2 separate regions of the Homo sapiens genome follow, and region 1 is linked to region 2. Evidence: promoter capture Hi-C in 16 types of primary human blood cells and fetal thymus (Javierre and others, 2016). All regions are on one chromosome and are shown on one strand. Each heading gives the region's core, a stretch centred on a gene start or on the middle of the fragment in contact. The rest is flanking DNA. Distances are from core to core; before and after follow the strand shown. Region 1 has its middle 100 kb from the start of CASC18. Region 2 holds the start of NUAK1 (NUAK family kinase 1).

Region 1 (2,902 bases), core at 238-2,737, 540 kb before region 2:
TATAGCCATAGCCAACACAATCATAATACCAAACTCCAAGGAACATTTTTGTCCTGCAGAAAAAGTAAATAGACAAGCAAAGAGCTGATCACAATACAGCATGGTGGGTGTTACTGGAGGAATAAGAATGGGAGGGTTGAGAGCACATAAGAGGAGCTACTAACCCAGTTTGGGGTGCCCTCTATGAGGAAGGGATATCAAAACTCAGACCCAAAGAATGGGTATATTAGCTAAGGTAATGCTAGCTGCTGTAACAAACAAATCCCCACATCCCCGCATTTCACTGACATGACTGAAGTTTACTTCTCATTCATGGGACTGCCAATGTGTTTGGTGGGTGGCCTTCCTCACAATGATTTGGGGACCCAGGCTCCATCCATCTTGTAGCTCCATCATCTCCTAGGACCTGGAAGTCCTTTACTTCCAGTTGGTGGATGGAAAAATAGGGCAGAGTAGGCACACCTGCCTCTTAACCACTATGCCCATGAGTGGCTGCATATTTACACTCACATTCTACTGGGGACATCTAGTCACATGGCCCACCTGGATGCAAAAGGCTTGGAAATATAGTTGCTGACTTGGTAGTCACATGCCAGCAATAACTGCATTCTGTGGAAGGTGAAAATGAAGCTTTAGAGTCTCTGACTCAATGAGTTAGCTAAGCAATGAGAGAGAGGCTTGGTGTTCCAGCTAAAGGATGGCACATTTTAAAAAAGTCCCAGAGGTGAGGAAAAGCCAGGCCCAATTTGAACGTTGCCAGATTTACGCCACATTTAACCAATAAAAATAGTTGGGTGCAGTGGCTCATGCCTGTAATCGCAGCACTTTGGGAGGCTGAGGCAGGCAGATTGCTCGAGGTCAAGTTTGAGACCAGCTTGGCCAACATGGCGAAACCCTATCTCTACGGAAAATACAAAAAAAAAAAAAAATATTAGCCTGGCATGGTGGCACGTACCTGTAATCCCAGCTACTCGGGAGGCTGAGGCATGAGAATTACTTGAGCCTGGGAGGCAGAGGTTGCAGTGAGTCAGGATCGTCCCGCTGCACTCCAGCCTGGGTGACAGGGCAAGACCCATCTCTCTCTCTCTCTCTCTCTCTCTATATATATATAGTCACATTTAAATTTTGTTTATTTATTAATATTTTAGGATTAATTTATTCATTCTAAAATATTATTTGGGATTAAAATTAAATAAATTTAAATTTGACTAATTTAAATTTATTTAATTTTAATCCCAAATAATGCTTTAGGATGAATATGACCCAAACAGTCCATACAGTTAAGCTGGATCCTGTGTTTTATGTGGCTATTCTACATTTAGGGAAAGAGCAAATAGTTCAGAATGACCAGAGCATAGAGTTTAGGTGAGAGGGAATTGGAGATTATGAATGGAGATGGATAAGTAAGCACAGACCAGGCTTTGGAAGGTCCTTTTAAGCAATACTAAAAATTTTATTCTGATAGCAGAGAGGGTCATCAAAGGGTTTTAAATAGGGGACAGGGTGTGAGGCATGCTCAGAACTGCATTTTAGGAAATGCTAGAGGTGGTGAAGAATATGGATTATAGTGGAGGTAATAGAAGGGGTGACCAGAGCAAGGGGATGGTGGCCAAACCAGGGGCCAAACCCAGGTCTCCAAGACTGAATTCATCAATGCATGATTTGTCAAGGTGCTTGGAAGCTGTTTAGAATAGTGGGAACAGCATGGGTTCTGGAGACCTTGGGTCCAATTCTGAATAGCTGGGTAGCCTTTAGCCCTTTCTAGGACTCACTTCCTTATCTCTAAATTCCTCCAGAGCTCTAGGATTTGACCTATTCCTGCAGAATGAGTCTCCTCTATCTCAGCATTCTAGTTTCTTCCATACTCAGACACTGAAAATCTGAGAATCTCACAGCTACAAGTCAGACCATGCCTAGCTCTGGTGCTTATATAACTGTCAGAATCTTTACCATGTTTTTCCTCTATCAACAGTTTGGTGCTATCAGCCTAGCTTCCACTGGCAAATCCATCACGTTAAGCTGAAAGAAGTCACACCTGCCAGGCCCAAGCTGTTTATCTCAATAATTTCCCCACATAAAGCACAAACAGGGGACTATTTATTTTCCTTCCTGACATACATAAGGCTGTTAAAAGTCTGAGCGCACTGGCAGTTTACATGAAGCTAACCTTAATTGCATACTAGAGAGCCATAAAAGGAAGATCAGGGCCTCATTAGCTAGGGACCAATTTTACATTTTTCTCCTCTGACCAAAACTGTTTAAAAATGTGGAGTACTATCTCATTCCAGCCAGACATAAATTTCAGTGCTGTCAAAATGCCCTTGCTGAATTCCAACTTTTCTTGAAAAGCTTGAAAATGTTCAGTGTGTCAACTTGGATTACAGAAACAAAATAGTATATCTTCCTTGGTTTCCCCCAACCCCAAATGAATGAATCTCTCTCTCCTATATAGACAGCACAACCTCAGTGACCCAGAGTACGTGATCGTGATCAATTTTGTCTTTTATGATTCAGGACTAATCAGAAATACTTTCTCACCTCCTTGTGTAAAATTTTCCTGGCCTTCCTGTTTTTTTCAGGGCATCTATGTTGTGTCAGGGACTCTGACATCAGTGTACTTTTGTGTGTCATATCTCCACATCCACAATTGCAGCCCAAATGTCTACCATCCCCACAACCTTCCCCTGCCTAACAGCAGGGCTGAAGCTCAATGCTCCTTCCCTGAGTTCTGCAGTATCTCTGGTAGCTCCCAAGCCAGCCCAGTGGCCGCAGTCACCAGAAAGCATCACTCTGCGACTTGGCTTCTGCTTCAGCTCGCCTTTCCTTTGGCCAGTGCCTGCTTAGGTATTAGGAAAATTCTCCTTCCTCTCGTACTGCTAATACCACCATTGTTTGTGTCAGG
Region 2 (3,303 bases), core at 478-2,977:
GAAATGCAAAAGAAACATGTCAATACTAAGCTGCTATTTTATTTGACAGCTCATTTTCCTTTTTCCCTGCAGTCATTTGTTGTTTATAAGCAAACCTGAGCCTCCAAAACACCCCCAAAAGTGCACACAAGGAGTCCCATAATCAGTTTCTGACTTTGGCCCTAAATCGATTAGAATACATCTGATCTGCTTCAAATCAAAGAACCATGTTAATTTTCTGCCACACACCACACAAAATCTTTCTGCAACAGTCAGTCACTTTGAACCCAACTCTCTAGCCACAAGCAGTGTGGATTTCAAGGGCCTGTTCTGCAGAAGTGAAAATAACAACAAACCAAGGCTGGGACAAGGCAGACAGACCCCAAGGCACTCAAAGCACTCCTTGGAGCTGTGCAAATGGTGCCAGGACCCTGGCAGGGTGTCAGCTGTCACAAGAGCAGCGGGGCCAGACCCCTTCAGCGGTTTGGTAGCCCTGCAACCAGGAGCTGAAACACAACTGAGCCTGCTGCAACTAAGCACAGCTATCTCTGTAGCTACCCATGCCCTGGACATTTCGGTCCTCCCAAAGCCATGATGCAAACTGTTAGAATCCTCAGGCTTGCAGTAGTCTTTATTTTTGCTCCCTAACCTTGTCTCAAAAACAGGCAAGAGTCGCCCTCCCTTGCAGTCACAGCAGTATCAGGGCGATGCAGAGTCTGAGTGGGAGGATGCAGAGCAAGGAGCTGCGGGCAGATGGGTGGAAGGGGGTAGGGACACCTACAAAACACCGGACTTGAGGGGCTAGCTCCTAGCTGGGAATGTGGTTCTTTGGAGAGTTGTGGAAATAAGACGTTTCGGGGCATGGTCTAAATGAGTGCCTGCGAGGGAGAGAGACCCCGGCCGTCCCAACGCTGCAAAGTGTTTGCAAATCTAAAACATTCCTTTGCTGCTAGGATTAAATTTTTAAAAACAAACCAAAAAATAAAATAAAATATGTGCAGACAGGATGTAACAAGTGTTTCAGGACAGAGACACGCCTGAGTCACGGGGTGCTGGAGAAAGAGTGAGGAGTCTGTCTCGGGGCTTCCCAATGAGCCCCCTCTCTGTCAAGAGAGCCCCAGGGCGCACAGACCCCCGCCTCGCACGCCCTCAGTCCCCGGCCGCGTCCACCCAGCGCCCCCCGCACCCTCCAGGATTGCCCCACTCACCACTCGGCCAGAAAACCTCTCGGTGGCCCGCTTGACTTTGCCGTAGGTGCCTTTGCCCAGGGTCTCCTGCAGCTCGTAGCGGTGCTTCAAGTTGTGCTTGTGGTGATGCCGCTTCACCCCGTGCGGCTTCCTGGGCTCCAGGGCTGCAGTCGCCCCCGCCACCGCCTCTCGGGGAGAGCCCGGCGCCCCCAGCCCCAAGTCGGGGCGGTCCCCCGCCACAGGCGCGGCGGCCCCTTCCATGTCCAAGCGCGGGGCGAGCCGGGCTACAGAGGGCAAGACCGGGCACAGCGCTGGGATGTCGGGGTCCCCACCGAGGGAAGCCGCTGTACGCTCAAGGTCGCCCCCGCAGCATCAGGGAGGCGGCCCGATACCGCTCGGACTGCGGCTCGGTCACTGGCGGCGGCGGGGACTGCACATCTGGCGCCCGCGGCGCGCACGGTCCGCGCACCGCCCCCCGGCCGCGGCGAGCTGTGGAGCGTCGGGCGAGGTGGCGGCGGTGGCAGGGGAGGCGGTGGTGTTTGCAGGAGGGAGGGGAGAGGGTGGCTCGCAGCGCAGGAGGGGGAGTGTTATGTGGGGCGCCGCGCCCCCCAACCCCTCCCCGGGAGGACGCGCAGACGGGGCGGGGGCGGCGCTCGCGCGGCCCCAGGGGAGGGGGAGCGAGGGGCGGTGCAGCCAGGGCTTCCCCCACCTCCCTGCAGCCACCCGGGGCCGGGGCCGCCGTGAGCTGGGAGGGGGATGGGAGCGTGTCGCGACTCGCCCTTTGTGCGGCGCGGCGTAGGCCACGGCGGCGGCGGCGGCGGCGGCCAGGAGTGCTTTGTCCTCGCTGGGCCGGAAGGGACCGGGAAATTCCAAGCCGGGCGCCCCCTCCCCGGGCGCTCTCGGGCTCGCCAGTCGCAGCTACCGCGGGCCCTCCGCCGCCTCGGGCTCCGGGGCCGGTCGCTCGGCCTGGATTCCTGCTGGCGCCGGGGCGGCGGTTGCGGCTGGCCGAGCCCCGGGGCCGGGGAAGAAAGAGCGCCGCGAGCCGGGGGCCGCCGGGACCTGCTCGCGATACGGCCGGGGCCGCCGCGGGCCTGGGCGCCCCTTCATTTTCTTGTAGGTGTCGCCGCAGCCTGGCGGCCGGAGCTGGGGGAGGGGGCAGGGAGGCCTGGTGTTCGGTTACAGGCGGTGACTCACGGACCTTGCCCGCCCGAGGCTGGCACCCCGCGGGGCAGAGCTGCGCCCGCCTGGGGCAACTCCGAGTCCAGGAGAACCCCAAGAGCGGCGCTTTGGCCCCGGCCCCCGCGCCCTCTCCGAAGAAAGGAGAGTCAGGGACGGAGGGAGGCCGGGAGGCTGAACCCCGGGCCCGCCGTCGAACCGCCGGCCCTCCGACACCATCTGGACCCCGGCGGGGACAGCCGCCTGGAAGGGGAGGAAGGCCAGGGACGTGGAAGAGATGGGGCTCTAAAGGCGCCGGGACGGAGCTGGCTCCCCAGAGGCGCCCACCCTGCCAGCGAAGGCCGCCATCGGAGGTGGGCAAACCAGGGACCTGGGGTGGACCAGGACCCCGGGCCTGCTGAGCAACCCGTTTGCTGAGCAGGAGGCGATTTGCAGGCCTCTTGCCTCCTTAGGCCTTGGGAGATTTCCTTTCACTGAAAGGGCCAGATCCTGGCGATGGTGACAGGAACGGTACCCCGCACGGTAAGGGTCAGGCAGGAAGGGCCTCCCACCGCGGCGTGGCTGCCGCCGTTCTAAGAAGAGACCATGAAAAATAAGGAAGAAGGCTAGAGAAAAAGAGGTCTTAGGGAAATTTTTTTTTTTAACAAGTGGTGCAATGTACCAGACTAGGGTGGGAAGAGTGAAGGCTGAAGAAGGTCTGGTGTTCTGCAGATCGCATGGCGGTTCTTTTCCACCAGTGGACCTCACTGGGGCCTCCTCTGCAGCTCTCAGGTGCAGCCCTTCCTCTACATTCCCGCCGCCTTCATTCCTGTCTACCCCTGGTCACCTTACCCCGGACTCCAGCAACAGCCCGCTCTCCCCAACCCTCCCCGGGAGCCTCCTCACTGCTGCCAGAGTAATGGCCTGAAACACTGCCCTCATCCTCCACACGTGTCTCTGCTGTACTCTGACGCGTGATATT

Evidence for each region. The method cuts DNA at HindIII sites, captures the fragments that hold promoters and counts their contacts. A CHiCAGO score of 5 or more calls a contact.
Region 1: a fragment that was not itself captured here is called in contact with the fragment with the promoter of NUAK1 in region 2 in 1 of 17 cell types (endothelial precursors); the score reaches 5.0 in endothelial precursors.

The regions. Positions count from the first base shown.
Region 1 is chr12:105,599,169-105,602,070 of GRCh38, forward strand. No RefSeq gene overlaps it. Among named protein-coding and RNA genes, the nearest start is that of CASC18, 100 kb to the right of the region's middle. The HindIII fragment of the contact is 1,719 bases long and covers 629-2,347 here.
Region 2 is chr12:106,137,227-106,140,529 of GRCh38, forward strand. NUAK1 (NUAK family kinase 1) reads right to left here and starts at 1,728. Exons shown (of 7, transcript NM_014840.3): 1 at 1,188-1,728. The coding sequence starts at 1,427. RefSeq lists enhancers at 157-658, 3,050-3,303. The HindIII fragment of the contact is 5,150 bases long and covers 1-3,303 here.